2 separate regions of the Homo sapiens genome follow, and region 1 is linked to region 2. The links are contacts of gene promoters, found by promoter capture Hi-C in blood cells and fetal thymus (Javierre and others, 2016). All regions are on one chromosome and are shown on one strand. Each heading gives the region's core, a stretch centred on a gene start or on the middle of the fragment in contact. The rest is flanking DNA. Distances are from core to core; before and after follow the strand shown. Region 1 overlaps DNASE1L3 (deoxyribonuclease 1L3). Region 2 holds the start of FLNB (filamin B).

Evidence for each region. Contacts are between HindIII fragments. The CHiCAGO score rates a contact against its expected background, and 5 or more counts as called.
Region 1: a fragment that was not itself captured here is called in contact with the fragment with the promoter of FLNB in region 2 in 4 of 17 cell types (naive CD4 T cells, fetal thymus, megakaryocytes and 1 more); the score reaches 6.0 in naive CD4 T cells.

The regions. Positions count from the first base shown.
Region 1 is chr3:58,190,906-58,197,269 of GRCh38, forward strand. It overlaps DNASE1L3 (deoxyribonuclease 1L3), which reads right to left. Exons shown (of 8, transcript NM_004944.4): 7 at 2,438-2,534; 8 at 1,352-1,898. The coding sequence ends at 1,782. Among named protein-coding and RNA genes, the nearest start is that of DNASE1L3, 17 kb to the right of the region's middle. RefSeq lists an enhancer at 5,665-5,844. The HindIII fragment of the contact is 1,894 bases long and covers 4,086-5,979 here.
Region 2 is chr3:58,005,270-58,011,362 of GRCh38, forward strand. It overlaps FLNB (filamin B), which reads left to right and starts at 3,153. Exons shown (of 46, transcript NM_001457.4): 1 at 3,153-3,587. The coding sequence starts at 3,296. The HindIII fragment of the contact is 11,042 bases long and covers 783-6,093 here.

The DNA.
Region 1 (6,364 bases), core at 3,783-6,282, 190 kb after region 2:
TGTTGTGCCTCAGCCTCCCAGTAGCTGGGACTACAGGAGTGTACCAGCATGCCTGGCTAATGTTTTGTATTTTTAGTAGAGACAGGGTTTCGCCATGTTGCCCAGGCTGGCCTCCCAAAGTGCTAGGATTACAGGCATGAGCCACCTCGCCTGACCTTGTTTGACCATTTTGGACCTTGGAAACTGGTAAGTTTCCTGGGACTATGAGCTCTGGCTTAGGAGAAGGGTGACAGATGTGTTAGCAGCCTTGCCATCACTCACCCCTCACCAATTCCAGTGAGACCTTTGTCCAATGAGGTTAATTGGACATTTGAGGAAGATGGCTTCCCGTGCTTAACCAGGGCCCTTTTGATTTTATTCCCCCAGTCAGATGTTACATAATTTCAAGTGTCAGACTTAAGGTCTTTTTCTCCTACATCAAAAGTCACATCATCCCCAATATATTAAAGGAAAAAAGCGAAGAGTGGAACCATGCATATGGTGTGCTATATTTTGTATTTTTAAGGTTACATATAGTGCTCATTTCTGTGCAGACTCTCTGGAAAAACACATGAGCTGGGAAGAGGGGCTGTTTCTGAGACAGGAAACTCGGGGATGGGGTCAGGGCACGGCATTCCTTTTCCCTGCTTATTCTTCGGTACTGTTCACACATTTAGCCATGTTCGTGTATGACTTGAACAAAGAAACATCAGGGAAAACAAAGCAAAACAAACAAAAATGGGCACCTTGGATACAGGCTAAATGGTGCTGTGTTGTTGGACTCCAATGAGCCTCCTTGATTGCAGAAAGATAACAAAATCCTCGAGTCCCAGCCAGCCCACTAGGTGTTTGTCACACTGGGGCCCCAAAGACCTCCAACACTGACCTTGGTGACAAATATAATGTGGTGGATGTTGCAATAGAGGTAGGGCGCACATGAGGGCTGGGGGCACTTGGCCCGGGCTCTGGAATAGGGCAGGGCATGGGGGGGGCAGAGCCAAGGCCCCCAGGGAGGGAGAGCATGGGGTATGCAGGGCGGAGGACATCCTCCTGGAGCAGGGGTTCAGGGTGGGACCCTGGCAGAAGGTGGGGCTGGCGCAATAAGCCAGATAGCAGAGACCTTCATGGTGGCCAAGACTGAGCTCTCTCCCATGGTGATGGGAGCCGCTGAAGGATTTATGGGCAGAGGGTGGGACTGAGGGTGGGACTGAGGGTGGGCTGTGGTCAGATTAGTATTTCAGAGGATGACACTGATGCTTCCTGGGCTGGCTGAGTTGGAGGACAATTCGAAGGCAGAGAAACCAGGTGGGAGTGGCCTTTATCCCTCAACACTGTGAGACGTGATGGTGGCCTGACCTCAGAGAGGAGGGGGCAGACTCTTAAAACAGTTAATTGCCCAAATCACAGGGGCAGCTGGGGCCTTGGTGTTTCTGGTCATTGCGTGTGGAACAGGACCCCTCATGAGGACTGAAAGCTGACGCTCTTCCTCCCCCTGCAGCCTCTCGCATGACAGGGTTGAGCAGGGCCAGTGACAGTGGATGGGGCTCTGGCTCAGGGCATGAAGATCATCATTTTGGTCTACAAATGCCCCTGGTTCCCTTTTAGACAATTCAGGGGAGGTATGAGACCAAGAGAGATACAAAAGATTCTCCTTCCAATTTGGCTCAAGTCAGAATAAATTCAGGTCAAAAAATGAAAGCAGTTGGATCACTCTTGTTTCCTAAGTACAGGGAGCAGTTCATATCTGTTAGAGACATTTTATTTAGAGGCAAGAAATGGTTAATAAGATGAGACCCTTGGGTCTAGGAGCGTTTGCTCTTTGTTTTCTTCCTTAGAGTGACAGATTTTTTGCTGTTGGTGAAGGCCCTTGAAGACTGTAGTTTAAATTCAACTGGAAAGTGGTCGCTGACATCCAGGGCCTATAAGGAGAAAGGGGAGGTAGACATGGAAATTAGGAGATGCCTGGGAGATGCTTTCATTTTAGCGATGAGCAAATTTAGGACCAGGGAGGGGAGAGGAAATGCCCGAAGTCACCCCACAGAACACTTACTGGTAAGCGTCATTCCAAGACCAGCTCGATCAGAAATTTTGGAGGGGCCTCAAATCACAGAATCATAGGCATTGAGGGTCAAGGTCTAGTGCCCAATGTTGTGTCTTCAGTGGTGACCTCAAAGGGTGGCATCAACCCATCTTTTTTTTTTTTTTTTTTTGAGACAGGATCTCACTCTGTTGCCCAGCCTGGAGTGCAGTGGTGCGATCTTGGCTCACTGCAACCTCCGCTTCCTGGACTCAAGTGATCCTCCCACCTCAGCCTCCCAAGTAGCTGGGACCATAGGCATGCATCACCATGCCCAGCTAATTTTTTTGAATTTTTCATAGAGATGGAGTCTCATCATGTTGCCCAAGCTAACTCATCTTTCCAGGACAATGGCATAGAAAGACAAGATGGCAACCTTACCTCCTCTTCAGTCAGCTTGTAAGCTTTCTGGAAGTCAAAAACACTGTTTGACTTGGGAACAACAGAACTGACGATTTCTTGTCCTCTAAGCACAATCCTGGAACAAGGGGAGGGAAAACAGTTGTGTTAATCCAACCTGTGATTGCTGAGATCAAACCAAGGTCTGTGTTTGCTGTCTGGAATTAACCGAGCAGTCTGGCCCTTTCATGTGGCGCTCAAAGTCCAGAGCTGGTTTTAGCCTGTGACCCCAAAGGACAGTGCCTACAACTGTGAAATAGGATCAGTCCCTGCCATGGTTCTGTGGACACCAGGACACTGTCTCCCAGTGTGGGCAATGTTCTGGTGGAGTAGGAGAAGATTTTATATGACACACGCACACTATCCCACACAACAATGACTTGCGTACTGAGAACGCTGTTCCTTTTTCAATTATTTTTCACTTTCCCTGATTTGATTATGGAGAAATTCTCAGGGAGGTGCTGGTTTGTCTTTAATACCTCCCTCAGTCCCGTGTTGACAGAGAGTAGGCTGCCATCTCCGAGCATTCTGCAGGCAAGAGAATTAAGGCAGAATTTAACAAGGCGTGATTTTCACTGGACTTAATTTTTACGTTACCTTCAATTTATGGCAAATGCTGCTGCTTTCTTACTCATGCTAGTATCATGAAATTTCTTTTAAAAATTTATTTCAGCAAGAAATTAAGCGATTTAATGGAAAATATCGAGAAAAATCACAGCATATGTGCTTTGCAATAATGACAAAAAGTAAGAATGAGGTAGTCAAATGAGTTTTGGAAACAAACTAACATATCCCAAGTTGGGTGATGCAGTTGTGGTCTACGTGGTCCTGAGTGACTTCCCGAGGAATGGCAAGGTGAGTCAAACTGCCATTTCATGAGTGACCAGTGGGCCTTCCCCATTCTAATCAACAGTTTTGGTATCTGCATTTGCTAACATCACCAGCACAACTAACTTTTTTTTTTTTTTTTTTTTTTTTGAGACACAGTCATGCTCTGTCACCCAGGTTGGAGTGCAGTGCGCCATCTCAGCTCACTGCAACCTCCACCTTCCGGGTTGAAGCGATTCTCCTGCCTCAGCCTCCCAAGTAGCTGGAATTATAGGTGTGTGCCACCACGCCTGGCTAATTTTTGTATTTTTAGTAGAGACGGGGTTTATCCCTGTTGGCCAGGCTGGTCTTGAACTCGTGACCTTAGGTGATCCGCCCACCTCAACCTCCCAAAGTGCTGGGATTACCGGTGTAAGCCACCGCTCCAGGGCTACGGCTTTTTTTTTTCTTTTTTTGAGACGGAGTCTCTCTGTGTCACCCAGGCTAGAGTGCAGTGGCGCAATCTCGGCTCACTGCAAGCTCTGCCTCCTGGGTTCATGCCATTCTCCTGCCTCAGCCTCCCGAGTAGCTGGGACTACAGGTGCCCGGCACCACGCCTGGCTAATTTTTTTTGTATTTTTTAGTAGAGACGGGGTTTCACTGTGTTAGCCAGGATGGTCTCGATCTCCTGACCTCGTGATCCACCGGCCGCAGCCTCCCAAAGTGCTGGGATTACAGGTGTGAGCCACCACGCCCGGCCCGGGCTACGGCTTTTAATTCAACCCAAATGTAAATTCTTCGCATCAAGTTAGACATTTGTGAAAGCTTTCTTTAAGACTCAGAAAGCAAAGAATGACATGTTAAAGGCTCTTCCATTTCTGACTTCTTCTAGGGATGTGCAGGACCAGGCCAGTGTTCATGTGACGTTTTCAGTCCAGGGCACCAGCCAGATCCTGGGCATCTTTGCATGTTCCCCCAGCACTCAGCACATGAGAGGTGTTTGATAAATATGTGAACATGGAACAAAGACTGGAACTGAGACCATCTTGTCTAATTACATTTTTAAAACATCATTTTTATGGCTTTTCATTTTCTCCGTTTATTTTATTTAATTTTACTTTTTATTTTATTGTATTGAGACAGGTCTCACTATGTTGTCCAGGCTGGAGTGCCGTGGCTATTCACAGGCATGTGATCATGTTGCTCTAAAGCCTTGAACTCCTGGGCTCAAGTGATCCTCCTGCCTCAGCCTCCCAAGTAGCTGGGATTACAGCATATGCCACCACAACTGGCCTATGACTTTTTAAAAGCCACAAGAGGCCGGGCATGGTGGCTCACACCTGTAATCCAAGCACTTTGGGAGGCCAAAGCAGGCGGATCACCTGAGGTCACGAGTTCAAGACCAGCCTGGCCAACATGGCGAAACCCCATCTCTACTAAAATTACAAAAAAAAAAAAAAAAAAAAAAAAAAGCGGGGCATGTTTGTGTATGCCTGTAATCCCAGCTACTTGGGAGGCTGAGGCAGGAAAATCGCTTGAACCCGGGAGGCGGAGGTTGCAGTGAGCCAAGATCCTGCCACTGCACTCCAGCCTGGGCGACAGAGCAGGACTCTGTCTCAAAAAAAAGAAAAAAAAGAGGCACAAGAGTTATACATGTTGTTATGAGAAACAAAATTCAGAGCATCAAAATAAGAAATGAATCTTTAAAATGTCACATGTAATCCCACCATCCTTTGGGATACATGTGTATAAAATCAGGATCCTTTTAGTAAACATCTTTTTCTAACCTGTTCTACCCCTGACCTGATCTACTGTGGCCATGTTGCCTTCTGATTCTTCTGTATCATTTTCAATCACTTCCCACTCATTTGCCAGGGGAGAAGAATGGCGCTGGAGAAGGGACTTGACCTACCCACGGGCACACAACTGCCATGTGTAACTGAGTGAGTGGCCATCGTCCAGGCTTTGCTGGAAGTCCTTCAAAATAGGGGGTCTGGGCACTTAGACCCCTGTAACTCCCCGCCTTGGGTTCCCACTTTGCAGAGTGATAACTTCTGCAAAGGAAACACCAGCCTCAAAAGCTCCAAGAGGAACAGGCCGGGCATGGTGGCTCACGCCTGTAATCCCAGCACTTTGGGAGGCCGAGGCGGGCGGATCACGAGGTCAAGAAATCAAGACCATCCTGGGTAACATGGTGAAACCCTGTCTCTACTAAAAATACAAAAAAAAAAAAAAATTAGCCAGGCGTGGTGGCGGGCGCCTGTAGTCCCAGCTACTCGGGAGGCTGAGGCAGGAGAATGGCGTGAACCCGGGAGGCGGAGCTTGCAGTGAGCCGAGATCGCACCACTGCACTCCAGCCTGGGCAACAGAGCGAGACTCTGTCTAAAAAAAAAAAAAAAAAAAAAAAAAACTCCGAGAGGAAGTGAAAACGAGTGGCCTGGTGGCTCTCATGCAGATGGCCATCTCACACTTCCTCGTGGCAGGCTGAGCTCTGGGAACTGTGGCCACCACCTGGGACCAGGCTCCTAGGGGTTTCCCCACCTGTGGTCTCTGTGATGGAAGATCACTAACATTCACACGCCTCAGGCACTCCCCCCTCTGTCCCCATTGAAGGAGCAAAGATGAAAGCTGTTTGAAAATCCCTGAAGGGACTTTAAAAAGCACGAGGGAATGCTAGGACTTAAATGTATGCATTGCATTTAGGAATATGTAGCTAAAGCTTTAAAAATATAAATACCGTTGCACTAATTGGTCTCATTTTTAGGGTTGCTTCCTGAGGAAATCATAAATACTTGCACAAAATGCACAGAGGATATTGATTTTAGCAGTATTTATAACAGCAAACCCTTGGTAATAACCCAATGCCTAATGATGGGGATTGGGCGCATCAATTGCGGTAAGTCTTTGTGATGGAACAATGATCAGCCCATGAATGTAATGAGCACTTGCCGTATGCCAGGCATTGTGCTAGCAGCCTGACATGTTATTTCATTTACTCCACATCGGATCTTCATGAGTGAGGCACTAGGATAACTTCCATTTTACAGGGGAGGAAATGAAAGACACAGAGAGCTTGTCTCTTGGTCACAGACATATGAAGTG
Region 2 (6,093 bases), core at 1,903-4,402:
TAGTTAATTTTTGAGATGGAGTCTCTCTCTGTCTTCCAGGCTGGAGCGCAGTGGTGCGATCTTGGCTCACTGTAACCTCTGCCTCCTGGGTTCAAGCAATTCTCCTACCCAAGCCTCCCGAGTAGCTGGGATTACAGGCGCCTGCCACCATGCCTGGCTAATTTTTGTATTTTTAGTAGAGACCGAGTTTTGCCATGTTGGTCAGGCTGGTCTCGAACTCCTGATCTCAAGTGATCCACCCGCCTTGGCCTCCCAAAGAGCTGGGATTACAGGTGTGAGCCACCACGCCCCGCCCAATTTTATCTTTTATATCGTATTTTTATTATACCCTTTTAATGTTTAGATTCACAAATACTTATTGTAACAATTGCCTACAGTATCAATATAGTAACTTGCTGTACAGGTTTGTAGCCCAGGGGCAACAGGTGATCCCCTCTAACCTGGATGTGTGGTCGCCTGTACCATCTAGGTCTGTGTGAACACACTCTCTGGTGTTCCTATCATGACAAAATCCTCTAGCATTCCTGTTGTTAAGCAACACATGAGTGTAGTTACTGAGTCCCTATTGTGAGCCAGGGCCGGGTAATATATTCTCTCCCCCAGGCTGTTGTGACCATTTCCAGTGAGTCAGTTCATCTGTCTGAACAAAGCACTCTGGCATTGATTGTATGCAAATAACCTGTTACAGAATGGTTCTACCCATAAACTGGCTGGCCTCTTTTGAGCAACCCTCAAAGTTGCAAGCCCTTGCCCTCTGTCCTGGTCAACCTCTCTTCCTCAGAAGCTTGCCTGCTCTGAACTCCTCTCCCAAACCGGGTTAGGAGCCCCTTCTCTGGTATCAGGGCACCCTGTGCCTCTCTTACAGACTTGCATTATGGTTCTAACTGTGCTGTGTGGCCTGGGCAAGCCGCTCAACCACTCGGTTATTTCTTCTTTTTTTTTTTTTGAGACAGAGTTTCACTGTTATTGCCCAGGCTGGAGTGCAATCTTGGCTCACCACAACCTCTGCCTCCTGGGTTCAAGCGATTCTCCTGCCTCAGCCTCCCAAGTAGCTGGGATTACAGGCATGCGCCACCACGCCCAGCTAATTTTTTGTATTTTTAGTAGAGCTAGGGTTTTTTCATGTTGGTCAGGCTGGTCTCGAACTCCTGACCTCAGGTGATCTGCCCACCTTGGCCTCCCAAGGTGCTGGGATTACAGGTGTGAGCCACTGCACCCGACTTGAAAGAAATTGCTTTGCACTGTGCTTGGCACAGAGGAACAGCAGGTGTTCATTCAATGCTTGCTGTTGTAATTATTCAGGCTTTTATCAACAGAGGGCTGGCCTGAGACTCTGCCATATCTCAGAACCTAGCACAGAACCTGGATGAGTACAGAGTAAGTGCTCAATGTATGCTGTGGTAGGCAGAGTAATAGCCCCCAAAGACGTTCACATCCTAACTCTCAGGACCTGTGAACATTCCCTTAAATGGCAAAGGGGAATTAAGGTTGCAAACAGGATTAGGGTTCTTAATCGGCTGATTTTAAAATAGGGAGATCATGTTGGACTAACCAGCTGGCCCAATGTCATCTTAAGAGTCCTTAAAAGGGCCAGGTGTGGGGAGGTTGAAGCTGCAGGGAGCCGAGATTGAGTCATAGCACTCCAGTTTGGGAGACGGAGTGAGACAAAAAAAAGGCTGGGCAAGGTGGCTCATGCCTGTAATCCCATCACTTTGGGAGGCAGAGGCTGGTGGATCGCTTGAGGTCAGGAGTTCAAGACCAGCCTGGCCAACATGGTGAAAGCCCGTCTCTATTAAAAATACAAAAATTAGCGGAGCGTGGTGGCGGGTGCCTGTAATCCCAGCCACTCAGGAGGTTGAGGCAAGAGAATTGCTTGAACCCAGGAGGAGGAGGTTGCAGTGAGCCGAGATTGCACCACTGGACTCTAGCCTGGGCAACGGAGTAAGACTCCATCGCAGGAAAAAAAAAAAAAAGGAAGATGTGCCTATGGAGAGAGGACTGTCTGAGGTCTGAGAGACTCCACCTGACATTGCAGGCTTGCTTTTCTGTTTTTTTTTTTTTTTTTTTTTTTTTTGAGACGGAGTTTTGCTCTGTCGCCCAGGCTGGAGTGCAATGGCACCATCTCAGCTCACTGTAACCTCTGCCTCCCAGGTTCAAGCGATTCTCCTATCTCAGCCTTCCCAGTAGCTGGGATTACAGGTACGCGCCACCACACCTGGCTAATTTTTGTATTTTAAGTAGAGATGGGGTTTTACCATGTTGGCCAGGCTGGTCTCGAACTCCTGACCTCAGGTGATCCACCCACCTTGGCCTCCCAAAGTGCTGGGATTACAGGTGTGAGCCATTGTGCCCAGCCCATTGCAGGCTTTCACAGAGAAAAGGGGCAGGAGTCAGGCGCGCAGGCAGCTTCTGGAAGTTAGAAAACACAAGGAAACAGATTCTTCCCTACAGCCTCCAGAAGGGAATGCATCCTGCCAACACTTTGTTTTTAGCTCAGCAAGACCTGTGTGGGCCATCGAACCTACAGAACTGAAGGATAATACATTTGTGGGTGTGTGTTTTCAAAGACACTAAGTTTTGGTAACTTGTTACAGCAGTAACTGGAAACTAAGACATGCAACAAGCCTTATTGTTCATTTTTACCACCACTACTGGGCTGTTGGTTATGGTGGAATTACACTTTTCTCTTCCATTAGGCTGTGTGAACTCCTTGAGGTTGTGCAATACGTTTGTCTGATTTACTACTGGTTAGCAGGCTCTGAGAAGAATGGCTGGTACACAGGCGGAGCTCAATAAAAGCCCTTACTGAATTTTATTCAATCTATATGTGGATGAAGACCTCCGCCCCGCGCGCCCCTCCCGCAAGTCCCACTGAGGCCCGACCCATTCTGTCCGGCTCCCAGCCCCCGCGGGTCCCCCCACCCCGGGGCTGACCGGGTGATTCAGGCAGCCCTACATCCTGCTGGGGTGGTGGGCTTCGAGCGCGGGTCCCAGGACGCAGTGGGGCGCAGTGCCTGCGGCAGGCGGCAGGAGGCGAGCGTGGCCCAGGAACTCCCGCGGGAGGGTCGGGACGGGGCGGGGCTTGGGGGCGGGGCGGCTCAGCGCGCAGGCGCGGGGCCAGGCGCCTCGCGCGGCCAGGGGCGGGCGGCCGCAGAGCAGCACCGGCCGTGGCTCCGGTAGCAGCAAGTTCGAACCCCGCTCCCGCTCCGCTTCGGTTCTCGCTCCTTCGGCCCTTGGGCCTCCAAACACCAGTCCCCGGCAGCTCGTTGCGCATTGCGCTCTCCCCGCCACCAGGATGCCGGTAACCGAGAAGGATCTAGCTGAGGACGCGCCTTGGAAGAAGATCCAGCAGAACACGTTCACACGCTGGTGCAACGAGCACCTCAAGTGCGTGAACAAACGCATCGGCAACCTGCAGACCGACCTGAGCGACGGGCTGCGGCTCATCGCGCTGCTCGAGGTGCTCAGCCAGAAGCGCATGTACCGCAAGTACCATCAGCGGCCCACCTTTCGCCAGATGCAGCTCGAGAATGTGTCCGTGGCGCTCGAGTTCCTGGACCGTGAGAGCATCAAGCTCGTGTCCATCGGTGAGTTCTCTGGCCGGGCCCAGGCGCCCACTGTGGTGCCGACCCGCCCCCGCGCGTGCACCCCTGCGGAGGGCGAGGATTTCCCGCAGCGCGCCCCCACCTCGGAGATAAGGGGGAGTCGTCCCCAGGGGTGGGTTATAGGGGGCCTAGACCCCCTCCCCGGTGTCTTCCCCTGGGATGGGACCTGTTGTGATCGCTCCCCGCCATCCGCCCCAGCAGTGCACCTTTGGCTGGCTAAGGGTTGAGGGTTTGGGCTGGGGTCACAGGAGGAGAGGTGGAGTTGTTGCATTTCTCTACACCTGGGGCGCCCCTATGGGAGCTAGGGGACTAGAAACCCTCGTTCGCTGTCCCCGGGGGCGGGCCCTAGGGTCAGATGCTCCGCGGAGTGCTCTCCCTGCTGCGCCCAGGTTGGTGCTCTCAGAGGCAGCTGAATGGGCGTTGGCTCGGAGGCCGGGCCGTGAGACCTGAGGAGGAACCGTTCTCTGCGCCTGGGGCCTCCCTGCCCAGGTGGAGACAGAGACCTGGTACCTTCCCCTGCCGTCGCTGGAATGGGTGTGGGCCCCGAGGTTGCAAGGGTAGGCGCGGGTGTGTGTCCTCGCTCTCTCTGCTCCCAGCTCAGCTCTGGCCGCGCGCCGCAGGTTGAACCCACTCCTTGCTGCCGAAGTTATAATTTAGAGATGGTGGTGGTAACAGTAATTGCTGTCTTGTAGGGAGCCCAACTAGCGTCCACTGTGTACCGTCAGCCTTCTAAGTTATCTCCGTCCCTACGCATCCTGCCATCTGGGGTGAGGCTAGACCCATTTTACAGATAAGGGGGTCCGGAGGGTTAATTGACCTGTCCAAGGTCAGCAAGTAGGGCCCAGCTGAGAACTGAAGGAAGTGGGCAACAGTTAGAAGGAGGCTTTGTTTTCCTCTCCTCTCCCAAACCTACACCAGGGTCTTCCTGAAAGGAGGGAGGGAATTGGTGTCTCTTGCTGGACTGGGCCTTCTGGTCTGGGGAGGAAGAATAAGGATGAAGTCTCCCTTGTGGTCTGAGATAGTTGGAGGCTTCCCAGAGGGCCACAAGGCTACTGATAGTGTGGGCTGTGATGGTAGGGGCTGTGATGTGTGTGTGCATGTGGGCGTTTGTGCAGAGAACGTGTGTACACACATAGCATGTGTGTATAGCATGTGCATATGCAAAGAGTTTGCATGTACACGGAATGTATGCAGAGAATGTGTATCCACCTACACGTGTGTATGGGTGTGTGTATGTGTGTGTGTGTATGTGGGTGGGTGGGTGTGGGTTGGGGCAGAGGAGGGTTCTGGGTCTGGATCTCTTCCTAAGGAGAACCAGGGACTGGCCCTGGCCTGTGATTTGGGTCTCTTCCTGAGGAAACCAGGTCACTATAGTGACCCTAGTGACAGGAAGAAAGGGAGATGGGTGTGGCTGCCAGGACTTTCTCCAGTGGAAAAGGGATTCCCTCTAGGCTGAGCCTCCCCTGGGCCTTAGGGCCTCACCCTTCCCTTCCCCCACACCTGTCCTGGCAGGTAAGGCTGCTTCCTGCTTCCTGGGCCCAGATGGCAGCCGCACCACCCAGCTGATCTCCAGCAGCCCTCCCCCTCCCCAAGGGTGGCTTCCCTGCAGAAGAATCTGCATGGCACGCTGTTGTCTTCTTTCTGGGGTCCATCTCCTGTACTGGGGAGGGAGAACCTCAGAATCTCCTGGAATTCTTTACCATTCAGAAACCAGCCTCCCCTCTGAAGAATCCCAAGGCCCAGCTGGGCTCAATTTGGATCTGTTCTTTGTTTTAAAAATGTGTATTTATTTAATTAACTGAATAAAGAAACTTAAAGTAAACCAGAAGTATCCAAATACGACATGAAATCTCTAAAACAACAACAAAACCAAACCAAACCGCAGCACTAGCAAATCACAGACTGCCTGATCTACCCACTGTTTACAGAGGCAGCAGCTACTTCCAGCACTGTCTCTCATCAGTGCCCGGGGCTGTGGGTCTCATTCTAGATTTTGTCTACATTTTTTTACATGGTTCTCCTGATTCCCTGCTCCCCCTCCCCACCACCGCCCCGCCTGGAGATGGAGCCTTGCTCTGTCTCCAGGCTGGAGTACAATGGTGCCATCTCTGCTCACTGCAACCTCCACCTCCCGGGTTCAAGCGATTCTTCTGCCTCAGCCTCCTGAGTAGCTAGAATTACAGGCACATGCCACCACGCCCGGCTAATTTTTGTATTCTTAGTAGAGATGGGGTTTCACCATGTTGGCCAGGCTGGTCTCGAACTCTTGACCTCATGATATGCCCGCCTCGGCCTCCCAAGTGCGGGGGTTACAGCCCTGAGCCACCGCGCCCAGCCCGGTCCTCCTTTTATTTTCGAATCCACTCAGGCCCTAGCTACTCCCATTGTCCCGACGTTCCAGGGTTAGTTAGCTTCCCTTCCTCTGTGCTGGGCCTGTGGGCTGTTGGCAGCTTCTTCCTGTTCCTACCACAACTTGCATTCTATTTTT